Linked DNA regions of Homo sapiens: all the other regions are linked to region 2. The links are contacts of gene promoters, found by promoter capture Hi-C in blood cells and fetal thymus (Javierre and others, 2016). All regions are on one chromosome and are shown on one strand. Each heading gives the region's core, a stretch centred on a gene start or on the middle of the fragment in contact. The rest is flanking DNA. Distances are from core to core; before and after follow the strand shown. Region 1 has its middle 220 kb from the start of RBM26. Region 2 holds the start of OBI1 (ORC ubiquitin ligase 1). Region 3 holds the start of NDFIP2 (Nedd4 family interacting protein 2). Region 4 overlaps OBI1-AS1 (OBI1 antisense RNA 1). Region 5 overlaps RBM26 (RNA binding motif protein 26). Region 6 overlaps RBM26-AS1 (RBM26 antisense RNA 1).

Region 1 (2,700 bases), core at 125-2,624, 530 kb before region 2:
GACAGACTTGCTCCTCACTCCCACATTTTGGTGTCACTTGACTGGCATAGGCCAGATAAGTTCCCAAATTCTTCTCCAAATTTAGCAAGCACACATGCCACTCCTCTTCCCCCAGACTGCAGTGAGGAAGGGGGCAGGGAGAGGCTGGAGTGACACTAACATGTTTGTTTCATAGGAAGAAAACATAAGAAATAAAGAAGAGCAGAGCATTCCCTTCCAACAAGTTCCTCCACTTAATTTCTTCTTTTTCTAAAATGGAATTCAGTATCAGCATAGATGGCATTGCCTTTCAGTTCTTTTATCTTTAACTTTGTTTTGCCCTGTGTTTTCGGCTTTGAACTTCCTCATAAGTGTGACAAGCCTAACTCTATCCCTCTTTGATTGCAGAAGTCTCATCTTTAGTTGTTGTTGTTGTTTTTCTTATGGTGGGACCTATTTCTTGAAGCACTATACAGAAGAGGATAGGAACAAGAAGTGCTAGAGTTGTTGGTGCTATTGCCAACTTCTGCTTTGGCACCATTGAGCTCTCTGCTGTTCAGAGGTTGATTCTGTCAGGTATAATGCAGATATGCTCACATCTTAGCACAGTGAATGCGAAAGCAATGGCTTGTTTACTTGGTTTCTGCATTGCAGTGTGGCTGGAGTGTGTTGAATTATTATTGCATTTGTTTTAGGGAGTCACCTCCCTTGTTGTTCACTTCCCTCTACATAACATTTCCTCTGCGAGGTTTACTGGCACTGCAGGAACTGAAAAAATGAAGTAAATGGCTCTCTAGAGAAATCTTTCTAGGAGGTGTGAACCACCTGGAGTCTGTAAATGCTTGAAATTTGGTTCTCAACAGGAAAGAAAATCAATGTAAGATAGAAATATAATGAAAAAAACACTTTTTTCCAGTAGGTAAATTTGGATTGGTGACAATTAGGTGTTCTGATCATCAGATTTCATAATCTGGATTGATTTGTAGAGAAATTTAAAAACCATCAGTTGTTACAATGCTATGAATACGTAAGAATACCAGGAGAGGGTATTCTAATCTACATGAAAGCCAATGCCATCGATGCTAATTTGTTTTCTGTTTTGCTCATGACACAACAAAGCGGCTGAATATAGTTTTTTGCTGTTGTTGTCACTCATCTTTCAAAGGAAAGAATACTGATAGTTTCAACATCATACTTTTAAAAAGTAACTTCTGCATAGATGGTACATATTGATTAAGCACACAGAGCAGTGCCTGGCAGACAGTGAGCACTGCATGAGGACTTTGTTAAATAAGTAAAATGTTAGAGTAAATTAAACCACCTTTGCCAAAATTCACAAATGACTTAGCATTGATCATTTACAAACCAGGTGATCTTCCCTGTGTTTCATATTTTAAAGCAGCAGGGTCTCTTCTGCTACTCTCCAATAATATCAATTAATACCCTCACAAATAGCCTTCTAAAGTTATCCAAACTTAGAAACCAATGTAAATGTAAGGAAATTATAGAGAAGACTAATGAGAATTTATATATTGATTAACAAAGGATTATGGTAAGTTAACTAAAGGCAAAGTGATTTAATTAATTTGTTTTTATTTATTATTATTTTTTTGAAGACAGGGTCTGTCTCTGTTGCCAAGGCTGGAGTGCAGTGGCAATATCTCAGCTCACTGCAACCTCCACCTCCTGGGTTCAAGCCATCCTCCCACCTCAGCCTCCTAAGTAGCTAGGACCACAGATGCACACCATCATACCCAGCTATTTTTAAAAAATCTTTTGTAGAGGTGGGGTTTCACCATGTTGTCCAGGCTAGTCTTCAACTTCTAAGCTCAAGAGATCTGCCCACCTCGGCCTCCCAAAGTGCTGGGATTACAGGCATGAGTCACTGTGTCTGGCTGTAATTTAATTTATAAACAAAAAATGTCACTGTTAATTCTAGAAAGAGTCAGTTATAACATTACTTACATTTGTCAAATTCAAGAATGGAAGAGAACAATGTATGTTGCTGTCCTGTGATAGATTTCTCTGTGGAAATCAGTCCCACCACTTTGGGTCCATGGGCTATATGAAACAAATGAACCAAAGGCCTTAGAACCTTGAGGTTTGGCTAATTTGCCCATATTTATACAATGTATAGAGGTTGTTTCTACTCTGTGTAAGGTTCTATACTAGTAATCTTATAAACAAAGACCAATATAAGGAGAGAGGAGATGGTTTGTAGTCTACTGTGTTTTGTGAAAGTTTGGGATGTAGTTCATTTGGACAATGCTTAGAATTTCATTTTGAAACATTTTCAGTTATAGCATGTTTAATTGGTTCTTTAAAATCTCTTCTTAAAGGATCCTGAAACTTAAAGAGGGGGAATGCTTATATTTTGTATAAACAAAAGTGGTGGCTCTATGATAATAGGAATCATTTGAAGATGTGTTGTTTAGAAGGTGATAAATAAAAAAGTTGTGATGAGAGAAAACATGGAAGAAGGAAAAAGCATAAAAGGTAAGTTTGGCAGTGTCCTGCCTACCAAGGAGAAATTCGACTTGGTAAGAGCATATTTTGACTTTGGGAGGCCAAGGTGGATGGGTTGCTTGACCCTAGGAGGTCGAGACCAGCCTGGGCAACATGGCGAAAACAAAAAACAAACAAACAAACAAAAACAAACAATTAACAAAACCAAAAATTAGCTGGGCATGGTGGCATATGCCTGTAGTCCCAGCTACTTGG
Region 2 (2,700 bases), core at 111-2,610:
CAGCCTGGGCAACATGGGGAAACCACTCCCCGACCCTCGAGGCAGGCGGATCACTTGAGGTCAGGAGTTGGAGACCAGCCTGACCAACAGGGTGAAACTCCGTCTTTACTAAAAATACAAAAATTAGCCAAGCATGGTGGCGCATGACTGTAATCCCAGCTACTCGGGAGGCTGGCTGAGGCAGGCGGATGGGATCGCTTGAGCCTGGGAGGTCGCTGTGTTGGCACCTAGTGGTGACAGAGCTAGACCCTATCTCAAAAAACAAAACAAAAGTTGCCAGAAGCCATGGAGCTACCGTTTAGGTAGGAAGTTGTTGGGGGCAGGGATTTCCGCTGAAGCAGCCCAGGTCCAGAACCCCTTTCTCTTAACCATGAGGCTGCTTCTTGAAGTCATACTGCGTCTTTTTCACAAAGATTAGTAAAAGTTGTCCCGATGGTCTTGTCTTTAAATCTCTCAACTCACAGATTTTACTTGTTAGCGTAATTTATCACATCAGCTCTTCCTCGCTTCAAGTAAGTTGCAGATAAATTCCAAATTTGTTATACTGCATTTAAGATAAATTTAGGAACTTTTAGGTTTTTTTCTTTTTTGTTGGTAGGAAACGCAACTTATAACCTCACAAATTCTCCCTTGGGGTTCAACAACACAGCGGTACATTTCATATGCAACCATGCACCTGAAATGAAGACGTGAAAACGTTAATCTCCTTTTGGTGGAAAACCCAGAGAAGCCCACAGTAAAAATGTATTTTCAGGGAAAGCTGCGATTAAATGTATCAGGATCGTCTCGGACACAGATAAGGAGACAATCACTGTTTTCTTAAGTGAATTATTGTGCCCTCTGGAAGCACATTATATTGAGTGGAAAGAGAACTGACAGAGGTGGAAAGCTGTTTTGAAAAAAATTGAAACGTGTAGATAATGTCTTTTCTCTATGTTTTGATTACGCTGTGTTGGCGGATGTGTGGGGTTTAATAATTAGGCGAAAAACTCTCCATCCTTCACCCCATCCAATCCCCGAAAACAATTTGGGGATTTAAAAAATCGCCTTTCCGTATCTTCCTCTTCTGTCTCCACTATTCCGCTTTCCTTTAGATTTTCCAAGATCCTCGATACTTGTAGTAAACTACCTTCCTACACATTCGCAGGAATCTTGCAGCTCCCTAATCAGTGAATTTTCTTTCTTTCTTTCTTTCTTTCTTTTTTTTTTTTTTTTTTTTAATGAAAGGAAAACGCCTTGGAGATCGCGCGTTTCGAAAGCGCGTTTTCGTTTTCTCTCCTGGGCGGGTTATGGCCCTACCGGGGCGCCGTAGCCGGCCCGCGCGTGCCCAGTCTTGGCGAAGAGTAGCGGTAGGTCGGCGGGACTTCCGTGTTGGCGGGATTCTGAACGCTGCCATGGCTCAGACCGTGCAGAATGTTACATTGTCGCTCACTCTGCCCATCACGTGCCACATTTGCTTGGGGAAGGTAATGGGTGATTGTGGGCACAGCTACAAAACGGGGTTGGATAAGTCGCTCGCCGGGGCCGAGGGCCGTCTCGTGCGGGGGCGGGGAAGGGGCGTGAGGCGCGGAGATGGGAGAAAACGCTAACCCGCGTTCTTGATGGGAGGCCGCGTCCTGGGAGATGGGGGTAGCGCACCGTGATTAATGGATTCATCTGGGCGCCTTTCGGAGGAGGGTGACAGCGGCCCGTGGTCTGCCGGGAGGGCGGCGAGACGGCCCTGCCACCGCCCGCGGCCTCACACTGGCAAGACACCGGCCTCGAAGGAGGCCCCATCAGAAACGCATCGCAGGGATATTTAACTTCCCTCTGCAGCCTCGCGTGGCGTGTAGTGAAGCCCATTAAAACACATTTCCTGGGAGCCTCACCTCGGGCTTCTTAGTCCTCTGTAACTAGTGTTCATCCTCTGGGGCCTACGGTGCTGTGTATTGAGTCTTTTCCATTTCCAAGACCTTTTGCCTTTATCCTGGCCTTGAGGATGACCTTTGCTCTGAATTCCTAATTTGAAAAGTAAATAGTAAGTGCTCCTGGAGGGTATTAGAATAAGAGGTGTGGCTTTTAACTCCAAGAATGGGTCAGTCAGGAGATAGAATACTCTCTCTTTGTGATGCAAGAGGTGCCTAGTGTGTTTGTGAAACAAGGTAGGGAAAGTGGTTCTGAATTAGAAACGGAGCTTTGAATATTCTAATGCATTCCTCTCCTCTTTCATTTCCATTTGTGCCTCACTTTCGGTGTTTTAAAGAGCATTTCTTTACCGAATAGATAAAGAAGGGGAAAGATAAACCACCAACTTTTTTCCACCCTGAATTATTTTTACGTCTGTGGTGTGTCAGGGTGTGTGTTTACCCCCCAGCGCAGACTGAGCCGTAGACTCAGATTTGAGAAATACAAACTTCTAGAGCAAGCATTTGAGTGCCGGCCAATACGATCTGCCTGGGGTGTTTGAAGTTCTGTGTGAATTTACTGGATTCAAAAAGTAGAAGAAAGTCAGCATTGGAAGCAACTGATAATTCTGGATAGCAGTCAGAATGAAATGCCAATGAAATAGCAAATGTGCTGGGAGATCATGGATTGGGGATGGCTTGATCAATTTGGAGAGATCAAGGATGGCCTCATCGAGGATGGTGTTTGAGCTGGCATTGAGCTATTACTTACTGCCTGCACGGCTAGGGGGAGGGAAGAAGCGATGTTTCTATTTGC
Region 3 (2,700 bases), core at 156-2,655, 820 kb before region 2:
AAACCATAAACTGCATCACCAGTGCTATGTATTGTTTTTCTCCTCTCCCTCAGTAAATGGGCTGAAAGTTTGTAGAATGACATGCTACCTAGCTGCAACAGCACAACAGCAGAGTCAACTATTGCTCAGTCCATCTTTAACTAAGGTTTACAACAGGAATCTCCAACGTCACCACCAGAATACACAAAGAAAAATATATTTAAAAATTGACACTGAAAATATAGAGGAACACATTTCACTTTTTTCAACATAGTTACCAAAGTTTACACAGTTAAGCTGGAAAACCTTGTATTTAACGAAAAATAATTTTTCAAACAAGATTAGAATTTGTTCTACTAAAACTACCTCTGTTTCCCCTCTAACCAAAAAAAAAAAAAAAAAAAAAAAAAAGAAAGAAAGAAAGAAAGAAAAAGTGGGGATTACCAAAAAATACAGTCATTTTTAATACTAACATAATGGAAAAGGACAAAATGACAAGGTTAACGAGCAGAGAGACAAGATCAGCATTATGGCTAGTCTTTCTCTACAGTTCCACAATTCCTAACCCACATTTTTGCCAAATCCACATCCCACCCCACGCAGTACTTACACCTCCACCCACCTACTCACCCACCCCATTTATGACGGCGATCACCTTCCGGGCAGGTATGTGAAGTCAGCCCCATTTCCAGTAGACAATCGACTAGAATGTCTCAGGAGTGACTGAGTCAGAGAATAAGAAAATGATAAAGTGAGAAATTAAAACGGATACAAGTTGTAAGGTGTGTGGAGGGAGGGCGTCTCACAGCGGGGCTAAGGGTGCGGGTGAGGAGCTAAGCAGACTTGGGGCGAGAGAGAAGGGTTTCGAAGGAGTCCTAGGCAGGAGTGCGCAGGTGAGGCGAGTGAAGCAGCTCCAGCCAGAAGATCCAAAAAAACAAAACAAAACACAACAAAAAAAAGCCACAGCTTTTCCTCCGGGAATAACCTGAGGAAAGGGACTCTCGGGACGCCGCGGCGGGAGGCAGTCCCGGGAGGCACAGGAGGCCGGGAACTCACCACCTGGTAGCGCCCAGTCCCCGGCTGGTGGTGATCCATCCTGCCCGGCTCGGGATCCGGCTTCCGAGAGAGGGAGTCTTCTCCGTGCTCAGCTCCCACGGCCACCCCCGTCGACGACGTCGTCGCCGCAGGGCCCCTTCCGCCTCCGTTCCTGCAGCCGCGGTCTCCCGGCGGAAGCTCTTCACTTCCTGTGGCTCCCGCAGCGGCCGCCGAGACCTCCGCGTTGGTCGCGGTTCCGCGGAGAAGCTCCGGGGCGCCGCGCGCGCTATTGAGCATGCTCGGACCGCTCGCGCAGACTCGCTGGCTCCGCCGGCGTGCCATCCGCGCCGCCAGTGGGAGGGTATAGCTGGGTGGGAGGAGATGGAAAAGTAAGGCAAGTCCGGGGGAGCTGTCTAGGTTGTCAACCTGTCGAGTGGGCGGTCGCAAAAGGCGCGCGGGGGGCGGGAATGACCCGTCCTTGATTGGTCTTTTCTGTGTGCGCGAGTTTCGCGCAGGCACGAGCCAGTGCGCCTTCTCACCACACAGAGACAGAGGCTGACAAGGGATGGGGCCGCGTTCCTAGAACACCTGAGGACAGGTCGCCCGGGTACCCGACACTTCCTCACCCAGCGTAGGACATGGGGAGGAGATTCATCTCTAGAACATTCCCAAAACGCTTATTCAAAATCATTCGTAAGATAAGCGATTTTTTAAAGACTAATATAGAGTAGTTAGAGTTTACAGAAAAATTGAGAAGTTACAGAGATATCCCATATACACTTGGCTCCTACGCATGCATAACCCCCCACCATTATCAACATCCCCCCTCAGAGTGGTACATGTGTTACGACTGATGAACCTGCATTGACACCTCATCATCACTCAAAGTCCATAGTTACCTCAGGGTTCACTCAGGTTGTTGTATACTCCTCGAGTTAGAACAAATGTGTAATGGCAGGTATCCATCATTATAGTATCCTACAGAGTATTTCCACTGCCCTGAAATTCTTCTGTGGGGTAATTTTTGTTTTTGTTTGTTGTTTTTTTAGAGATGGGGTCTCACTATATTGCCCAGACTGGAGTGCAGTGGCTGTTAGCAGGCGCAGTCATGGCTCACTGTAGCCTCGAACTCCTCGGCCCAAGCTATCCACCTGCCTCAGCCTCTGGAGTAGCTGAGACTACAGGCACTAGCTCTTTGGTTACTTTTTAAACTCTTTTTTCCACTTTTTGGTAATAAGAGATTTAAAAATCCAACGGACTCTCCAGACAACTCTCAAAGAAAGAGGTCTCTAGAGTTCTAGGTTACTGGAAGGACGTTAGAAGAAAGTAATGAAATCAGATAGGATTATTTTGTGGTAATACTCAATAATTCCAATTGATTTAACAGCAAGGAATCACTTGGGAGCACTGTTAGTAGTATCTCACTGTCTGGTTAACCACACATGACACGGCATAAAGCATATTTCTCTAGCAAGTAGAAGAGTATGACAGAGCAGCGAAAAGTACCTTTTAACCTGAAGACCAACGTTCTATACCCTAAAAACTATGATGCTGCTTGATGTGGCCCAGCTATGTTTTTAACATAACACCACATTTTCCCTAAATGATCTTACAGTGGAGCGCCCTGAAGGGAAGGAAAGGGATCTGGAGCCCCATTTATTTCCTTCATGAATGTCCAGAGGAGAT
Region 4 (2,700 bases), core at 182-2,681, 520 kb after region 2:
AGGAAGGAAGGAAGGAAGGAAGGAAGGAAGGAAGGAAGGAAGGAAGGAAGGAAGGAAGGAAAAGGAAAGGAAAGAAAGGAAAGAAAAGAAAAGAAAAGAAAAGAAAAAAGAAAAGAAAAGAAAAGAAAAAGAAAAGAAAAGAAAAGAAAAGAAAAGAAAAAAGGGGCAACCCTTCCAGGCCTAACTTTATGTCTTGGGCCTCATGGCATGGCTTCCCTGTTGGATGTATATTTGATTATCAATATCCCAAGAACCAGAGCCCTAATTCATACACTTACATTCTGCCTATGGTTAACCTCCTTGACTCTGCAACTAGACATTCTCCTTCTAACTCATCTTTAGATTTTTACTAAAGCAATATTGTTATATTTTATATAGCATTTCACAAGTTTTAGTGGAAAGTGGCTCACATTGCGTCAGTCTGCCATATTGCTGGAACTCAAGTATTTTCCTGTCTATGTATACTGTTTCATATAGCTGAAATAGTATACCACATCCTCACACCAAATTCTCCCTAAATTAGAGTAAAAAATAAGTTCTGTCATTCAAACCCTTCAAAGCTTCCAGGGTTAAACTCCTGCTCCATCTGTTCTTTTACTTAGAGACATCCAGCACTACCATCTGTTTTGAACATGTTTTATAGTAAGTGTTGTGGCCACTGATAATTTATACTTATTAAGAATCATTATAATATAAAAATACCGAAATGTAGAAATAACTCACTTAACATTCTTACAACAAGGCACTCACCACGCAGTTGTAGAGAGCTGTAGAGTATTATATTGAAATCCATGAACTCAATATTTTAGATCTGAAAACTACCTTAGAAACCATTTGCAGTAACCAACTCTTTTAATTGAGAAAACTAGGCCCTAAGAGTTCAAGAACAACATCCTAAGGTCTCTGCAAAACCTCTAGCAAAATGGCACCAAGGCACTGTGTACTGTTCAGAGTCAACTCAACACTCCAAAGTAAAATAAGTATCCAGATAATCTCCTTGTTAAACTTATTAATAAACCTTAAGGTGACTATCTGGAATGAACAGTTATTAGCTGGGTAGGGTGATGCATGCCTATACTCCCAGCACTTTGGGAGGTCGAGGTAGGAGGATGACTGGAGCCCAGAAGTTCAAGACCAGCCTGGGCAACATGGCGAGACCTTGTCTCTACAAAAAATAAAAATACAAATTTTAGCTGGGCGTCGTGGCTTGCACCTGTAGTCCTAGCTACTCCTGAGGCTAGGTGGGAGGATCCCTTGAGTCCAGGTGTTCAAGGCCACAGTGAGCCATGATTGTGCCACTGCACTCCAGCCTGGGTGACAGAACAGAACCCTGCCTCTAAAAAAAAAAAAAAAATTGTCTATGTAACTTATGACACTTTTCATTTTAATGTTGTAATATGTTAGAGTCCACTCACATTGTCTGTAGTTCTAACAGTTCCATAATTTACTTTTAAAATTTCAACATAATTAATGGAATCCTGACTAATGCCAAATAATAATGGTTTGTAAATGAATACAAACCATTTTGCAGCTACAGGTGTAAATGTTTTATCAACATTTTATTATGTTGCTAAAATCTCTGAATATATGAACCACATAAATTTTTTCTTCCTCATTTTATTCTTTGTTTTACTTTTATGTCACTTGTGTTTCTTTTTTAAGTTTTATTTATTCCAATGTGGATTTTATGGGAACACAGAATGTTTTGAAGGTGGCTTGACAAGCTAGAGCAGTACGTTTTGCTGGAAATGGTACTTTAACCCCTATTGCCCTGCCACAAGAAGATCATGGATCTCAGTGAGAGACGTTTTTGTTCACAAGGATCTCAGGATATTTTATCTTTTCCACCAAGTGACTTGATCTTTTTTTCTAGAGAATTTGAAGATAATTTGTTAAAATTTTTTATTGGTAACTTTTTGTCTGTAGACAAATGTAAAAACCCTGTACACATTTTCCTAGTATGTCAGAAATATAGATGTAATATTAGCAACAAGGTTTAAATAGATTGACTCTTAATTCTGAGTATCTGAAAAGAATACATAAACAATGATTTTCCCAAGGGCCAATGCTAATGTTGGGTTAGAATGACAATCTAAAATTCATTTGGTATTTAGATTAGGGTAGATATTAGTTCCTCCCACAAACACATAACCCCCTGGCAGGCATTTTGAATTTACACTCATTCAAGAGGTGATATTTAAGATGTGATGTTTTCAAAAACTGGCACAAACATTAGATAACTACTATGTCAAAAGACACATTGATATTAAAATGCTACAGGAGGTCTGGCTCTCCAAGCTTTGGTTTTGGTAAGCAGTACATGCCAGATGTTTCAGAGAAAAGCATAAAATCTACATTATGTGCCTAATTGTACTATATTACATAAGAGGGACGGAGATTTTTTCTTTCCCCTGACTGCAGCTGGTGATAACAATATGCCCCGGAGCATGAAAGAATCAGGCACCCTGAATACAGGGGCAGCTCTTCACTGTGCTTCTTCTGGAAGGGTGGGGAAAAATTTTAGCTTCAAAAATCTCCACATACACAGACAATAGCAAATACTCCTAATATAACAAGGTATATGGATAGGGATTAAACTACTCGACCAATCAGAGTAGACCTCTACTGTAGGGAATGAATTGGAGAAAGAACTTGGCAGTAAATCCTATACTATTGCAGATCTACACACTATGGATAAAC
Region 5 (2,700 bases), core at 135-2,634, 670 kb before region 2:
ATAATACAATTAAAATACATATTTAGTCACCAAGTGGAATGTCAAATTGTGCTGTCGTGAGATACCAGGGATTCTCCTTTCTTTCTTTTTCATAGTAGATAGGGCCACTCCACTACCCATTATTCTTTTTTTTCAGCTGACCCAAAACAGGATCTGCTTTGGCAGAATGAGTGGTGAGGGATAAGGTACAAGCAGTTCTAATGTCTGCCCATCTTAGCCATTCCTCATCTACTGCTTCCTGGTCTCATCAGGTTGAACTCTAAAAGAAGTGTCCCTAGTTCAGCATAGCCCCAACTAGACTTCTATGACTTTTTGCCTAAGACATGGTCTATACCTCTAACTTTGAGGGTACTCTTAGTAAAGTTACCTTAAACTATCAATCTTGAATTGTCTTTCCAAGGACTGACCGGAATATCTGCAACCTTGTCTTTCATTTGGGTTTCAAAGATTAAAAAAAAAGGAAAATGGGAGTGAGGTGTAGGGGATTCATAGGAGCCTTTTTTGCCCTGTGTGTTCTTTCTTCAGGAATTGTAGAGAAGACAGTGTCACTGTTTTGTCCTTGCCATTGTTCCAGGGATGAAATAGTTTTCCAAATGAAAGCAATGAAAGAGTGAGATGCTTTTCAGAAGTTTTAAGTTGATTTCAACTTAAATAAGTTTTGAAAAAACCTCTACATTTATTTATCCTCTTTGTAGTGAATGTTCTCTGCCAGCACAGTGGTACATTGCTTACCTGGTAGAAGTTGCCCTTGGGGCATTGTAACCATAAGACTATGGGTCTGATAAGTCATTCAACTGGAGCCTTGAAAAAATCTAGTTTTGGGGGTAGAGGTAGGGGGTAGTATATTATTTTATAAAATAGGAATTCCTGATCTTAGGGTGTTCTCTTTTTAAAGCTAGCTTTGAATAATCATTTCTTTAATGTTCTTTTGTGAAAGTAAAAAGTAATTTAAAATTGATGAGATTTTAAAACTCATAAGCTTGTATGTGTGTATGTTATATTGAAAAAGGTAGATCTTTGATTAAATGTTCTCTCCAGGGTATTGTTAAGTGCAAGTTTAGAGTAAGCTTCCTTTCAGTGGTGGCTTCAGTTGATAATTTTTAGTCTCTTGCTAGATAGGTAGTTTTATGTTTTATGTATTTTCTAGGGAATAGTGGTATTATAAAATAATGATAGTTGTTACTGTACAAATGGTTCAGATATTGCCAAATTTGTGGATTTATTAAGAACTTTAAATATGTACTACTTCCCTTGCTTGCTTATATGGCTGAGAAAAAATTAAAACCTCTTCTTAAATAATTTTTGGAAATTTTGCTCGCGGAAAGACTTTTGACACGTACCTTCTTTCTTGGGTCTTGCTTTTTGTACCTTAGGCGTGTATACAATGTATTTTTCAAAATTAATAACAATAAAAAATACCAGGGATTAATGTATAAGGAAGACTTTAGCACTGAATTACATGAAGGTTGAATAAGTGACAGAATAACTAAGGCCAAGTTAGGTCTAATGAGAATTACCTATTTAGAGGAAATAGCTTTAGTTGGATTTACTTAATAGACTAAAAAGAGTAATGACCACTGCTATGATAAATGTTTAGATTTTTAGTTACAAAAGTTGTTAAAGCATAAGCATATCCTTAAGCCAGAAAGTTTCTTAAAATTTTGTAATGTTGAAAAGAATAGAAAATTAAGTTGAAGCTTATCTTATACAAGCAGGATACATATAGAGCAGTGGTCTTCAAACTTTTGGATTTCAGGGAACAGTAAAGTTTAGGAATTTAAAAATTTGTGTGTTTGTCATAGAGGTATCAACTTTTTATTTTGCCAGGGAAGAATACTTTAAAAATACAAAAAGATTGTCATGTTCTATCACCATTGTTATATAAAATAAAGGAAATTTTAACACTGAAAATGTAGGAGAACATGAACTCGCAGTAAAGGATAGGCCTTCCCAAGAAAAAACTGTCAGCCCTTGCCAATGTTTACTGTCAAACATTACATTGTTCTTGTTTTCTGGACCATTATCCTAGATGACTGAATGAATTTATTTTCTATAATCAATAGATGCATAGTATTTCAAGATGAAAGTACAAGAATAAATAAGGTAATTGAGACATTCAGATATAACTGAAAAGTGAGAAGTTTTCCTCAGGAAAAATATTGAAGCATTTTAAAGACCATCAGTATAAGCAGAACACTGTTAGCTTTAGGTTAAGATGGTTTATGGTTTGACTCTGCCTTGTTACCTAGAAGATGGTTCCTATTACCTTATTTTCTATTTTTTTGTCTATCACCATGCCAAAGTACTAAAGTTGGATAAGTACTCAGACAAGAGTAAAGCAGTCGTCTCTTCCATGACTGATTTGAATATTATCTTTTCTGCACTGAATTGTTACTGTACCTTTGTAGGAGCCCAAGATCCTGTTCAGAATAGGAATAATTAAGTTGCTGTTTTAGAAGAATCAGAACAAAAATGAAACCTATAGTCCCAAACTCACAGAGGTACAATTTTTTTTTTTTTTTGAGGCGGAGTCTCGCTGTGTTGCCCAGGCTGGAGTGCAGTGGTGTGATCTCAGCTCACTGCAAGCTCCGCCTCTCTTGGCTTCATGCCATTCTCCTGCCTCAGCCTCCCGAGTAGCTGGGACTAGAGGTGCCTGCCACCACGCCCAGTTAATTTTTTTTTTTTTTTTTTTTGTATTTT
Region 6 (2,700 bases), core at 86-2,585, 750 kb before region 2:
GAGGTGAACCTAGAAAGAGTTAACAACTGGAAGCTGTCAGGTAACTATCCTCCTTGCAGTTGGGCAGTGAGTCCTTTCTTGAAGGGAGATCTGAGCTGCACACCTCTGTGACTGCTATACACTGTAGGATGTCAATTCAATCCAAATTAATCCATAACTTCAATGATGAAGAATTTTTTGTTTACAAGTTCAACAATCTTGTTCTATGTATTTGGAAACTAAAGGTTCACATTTATTTATTTATTTATTTATTTATTTATTTATTTAGACGTAGTTTCACTCTGTCGCCAAGGCTGGAGTACAGTGGCTCAATCTCGGCTCACCGACAACTCCACTTCCCAGGTTCAAGCGATTCTCCCACCTCAGCCTCTGGGCTGGGTACTACAGGTGTGTGCCAACACACCTGGCTAATTTTTGTATTTTTAGTAGAGATGGGGTTTCACCATGTTGGCCAGGCCGGTCTTGAACTCCTGACCTCAAGTGATCCGCCTGCCTCGGCCTCCCAAAGTGCTGGGGTTATAGGTGTGAGCCACTGTGCCAGACCAAGATTCATATTTAGCCAAGCTAAATTTGAAAAAGAGCAAAGAAGAGGGATTTGCCTTATTATATATTAAGATATTCTATAATACAATAGTAAATAAAAGCAACATAGTACTGGAGTAGTCACAGACAAGCTGACCAATTGAAAAATAGGTCAGAAGCAGAACACAAATGAAATGAAAACAGAAAGATATAAGTGGCATCAAAAATCAAACAGGAAGGAAGCTAGGCACGGTGGCTCACGCCTGTAATCCCAACACTTTAGGAGGCCGAGGCGGGCCGATCACTTGAGGCCAGGAGTTCAAGAATAGCATGGCCAACATGGTGAAACGCCCTCTCTAATTAGATGGGCATGGTGGTGCACACCTATAGTCCCAGCTACTTGGGAGGCTGAGGTAGAACTGCTTGAACCTGGGAGGCAGAGGTTGCAGTGAGCCAAGATTGCGCCACTGCACTCCAGCATTGGAGATGGTGTCAGACTCTGTCCCAGGAAAAAAAAAAAAAAAAAAAGAAAAAAATCAACAGGAAAGAATAAACTGAGTGAGTAGACTTATAGAAAAAAAAAATGGCCTAGATCCTCACTTTACACCACAAACAGGGATGTATTACAGAGAGAATAAATACTTAAGTGTGATTCTAAGTAGAGTAATGGACTGCAAAAGAAATAGAAGAAAATACAGAATCTCTTTTTGATCCGGAAATGCTGACTGTTTTTAAACAAGACTTCAAAAGCACTATTGAGAGTAGTAAGACTGTATTCAACTAGAGGAGAGAGCTGGAAAAACCTGAGGAGGAGTTCAGCACACTATAGAGAATATTCCTGGGATTGGTGCAGCTAAAAGATGAAGGCAACTTATGGTAATAAACCATAAAGAAATACAGATCTGTTAGAGGGCATATCATTCTCTTGCCTATCTAAAATATTTTCTCCTGCCTCTGCTTCCTTCCTATTTAAAACGAAGCATGTGTCTTCAATAAACATTTTTTGAGTTTCAGACACTGAGTTAAGTGCAGGACGTAGAAAGAGGAATAAACTTGAGTCCAGTCCTTAAAAGAGCTCACAAGGCCGAGAAAGATGAGAAAACTAAATAAAATGTTTTATTTTTATCTGTCCTCACAATCTCTTCCCAGTAAATGTTTTAACTCCTGTTCTACAGGTAGGGAGCTAGACCTTTGTCCAGGGTATCATTGAGGTACTGACATTTGAGCAATAAGGAAAATCATTCTGGCAAAAGGAACAGTGCTAATAAAGTCACATGGCCTTGAAAGAACATGGTGTATTGGAAAACGTTAAGCAGGCAACCTGATACTGGACATTCCAAAATGTACATGTTACTGAATAGAGAAAGTAGTCCACAGCAGCTGTTTAGTCTTCTCTTAGTAGAATTGATGATTACATCAGCTAATTGTCGCCTTTGAAGGCAGGGCCAAAGAAGATGAAGCAGGGATAAATGAAGGATAAATGTTAATGGTTAAGGAAGAGAAGCATTCTAGGAAGCAAAAATGACTAACTGTGAAGTGATAATAAGCACTGTACCATAAATTTAGAGGAGGAAGATACTGCTATCAGCCACAGTGGCCAGGAAAGGTTTCATGGAAGTGGTACGGCTTCCTTTGGTCATTCAAAAAATATAGTTAATCCTTATTACTTACAGATTCTGTATTTGTGAGTTTGCCTACTTGCTAAAATTTATTTGCAATGCCCAAATCAATACTTGGAATGCTTTTGCAGTCATCTGTCGACATGAACAGAGGCAAAAAAATTTGAGTCACCTGATGCACATGTTCCCAGCTTTGGTGAAACAAGGGGATGCTCTGCCTTCCTGTTTTAGCTCTCACACTGGAAACAAGTGTCCTTTTCATGGTCTATTTAAGGCCACATTTGTTGCATTTTTGACCTTTTTGTGATTTCACTGTTTAAAATGCCCCCCAAGTGTAGTGATGAGGCTATCTGGGTCCCTAAGTGCCAGAAGGCTCTTCTTTCTTTTTAAAGAGAAAATACATACGCCAGGTAAGCATGAGTTATAGTGCCACTGGCTGTGAGTTCAATGTTAATGAATCAACTATATTAAATAAGGTGCCTTAAAAATTTTTTTTTTTCCTACATAAGGTGCCTTTAAAAAGAAACACACATAAAACAAGGTATTTATGGGCTGGTTG

What was found. Contacts are between HindIII fragments. The CHiCAGO score rates a contact against its expected background, and 5 or more counts as called.
Region 1: a fragment that was not itself captured here is called in contact with the fragment with the promoter of OBI1 in region 2 in 1 of 17 cell types (total B cells); the score reaches 5.1 in total B cells.
Region 3: the fragment with the promoter of NDFIP2 here is called in contact with the fragment with the promoter of OBI1 in region 2 in 3 of 17 cell types (non-activated CD4 T cells, naive CD8 T cells and total CD8 T cells); the score reaches 5.8 in non-activated CD4 T cells.
Region 4: a fragment that was not itself captured here is called in contact with the fragment with the promoter of OBI1 in region 2 in 1 of 17 cell types (M2 macrophages); the score reaches 6.7 in M2 macrophages.
Region 5: a contact is called between a fragment that was not itself captured here and the fragment with the promoter of OBI1 in region 2, in 6 of 17 cell types (total B cells, naive CD8 T cells, naive B cells and 3 more). The highest score is 8.6, in total B cells.
Region 6: a fragment that was not itself captured here is called in contact with the fragment with the promoter of OBI1 in region 2 in 7 of 17 cell types (non-activated CD4 T cells, naive CD8 T cells, total B cells and 4 more); the score reaches 8.1 in non-activated CD4 T cells.

What each region holds. Positions count from the first base shown.
Region 1 is chr13:79,189,101-79,191,800 of GRCh38, reverse strand. No RefSeq gene overlaps it. Among named protein-coding and RNA genes, the nearest start is that of RBM26, 220 kb to the left of the region's middle. RefSeq lists a silencer at 749-858. The HindIII fragment of the contact is 3,275 bases long and covers 1-2,700 here.
Region 2 is chr13:78,657,815-78,660,514 of GRCh38, reverse strand. It overlaps OBI1 (ORC ubiquitin ligase 1), which reads left to right and starts at 1,360. Exons shown (of 6, transcript NM_024546.4): 1 at 1,360-1,466. The coding sequence starts at 1,395. RefSeq lists enhancers at 2,002-2,081, 1,992-2,700. The HindIII fragment of the contact is 7,616 bases long and covers 1-2,700 here.
Region 3 is chr13:79,479,860-79,482,559 of GRCh38, reverse strand. NDFIP2 (Nedd4 family interacting protein 2) reads right to left here and starts at 1,405. Exons shown (of 8, transcript NM_019080.3): 1 at 1,036-1,405. The coding sequence starts at 1,356. NDFIP2-AS1 (NDFIP2 antisense RNA 1) reads left to right here and starts at 1,329. Exons shown (of 3, transcript NR_046685.1): 1 at 1,329-1,408; 2 at 2,630-2,700. The HindIII fragment of the contact is 10,753 bases long and covers 1-2,700 here.
Region 4 is chr13:78,133,418-78,136,117 of GRCh38, reverse strand. All of the region lies in intron 1 of OBI1-AS1 (OBI1 antisense RNA 1), which reads right to left. Among named protein-coding and RNA genes, the nearest start is that of OBI1-AS1, 80 kb to the right of the region's middle. The HindIII fragment of the contact is 1,738 bases long and covers 563-2,300 here.
Region 5 is chr13:79,331,458-79,334,157 of GRCh38, reverse strand. All of the region lies in intron 20 of RBM26 (RNA binding motif protein 26), which reads left to right. Among named protein-coding and RNA genes, the nearest start is that of RBM26, 73 kb to the left of the region's middle. RefSeq lists an enhancer at 2,486-2,700. The HindIII fragment of the contact is 630 bases long and covers 1,070-1,699 here.
Region 6 is chr13:79,409,081-79,411,780 of GRCh38, reverse strand. The region is part of intron 1 of RBM26-AS1 (RBM26 antisense RNA 1); the gene reads right to left. Among named protein-coding and RNA genes, the nearest start is that of RBM26-AS1, 4.1 kb to the right of the region's middle. The HindIII fragment of the contact is 5,354 bases long and covers 1-2,700 here.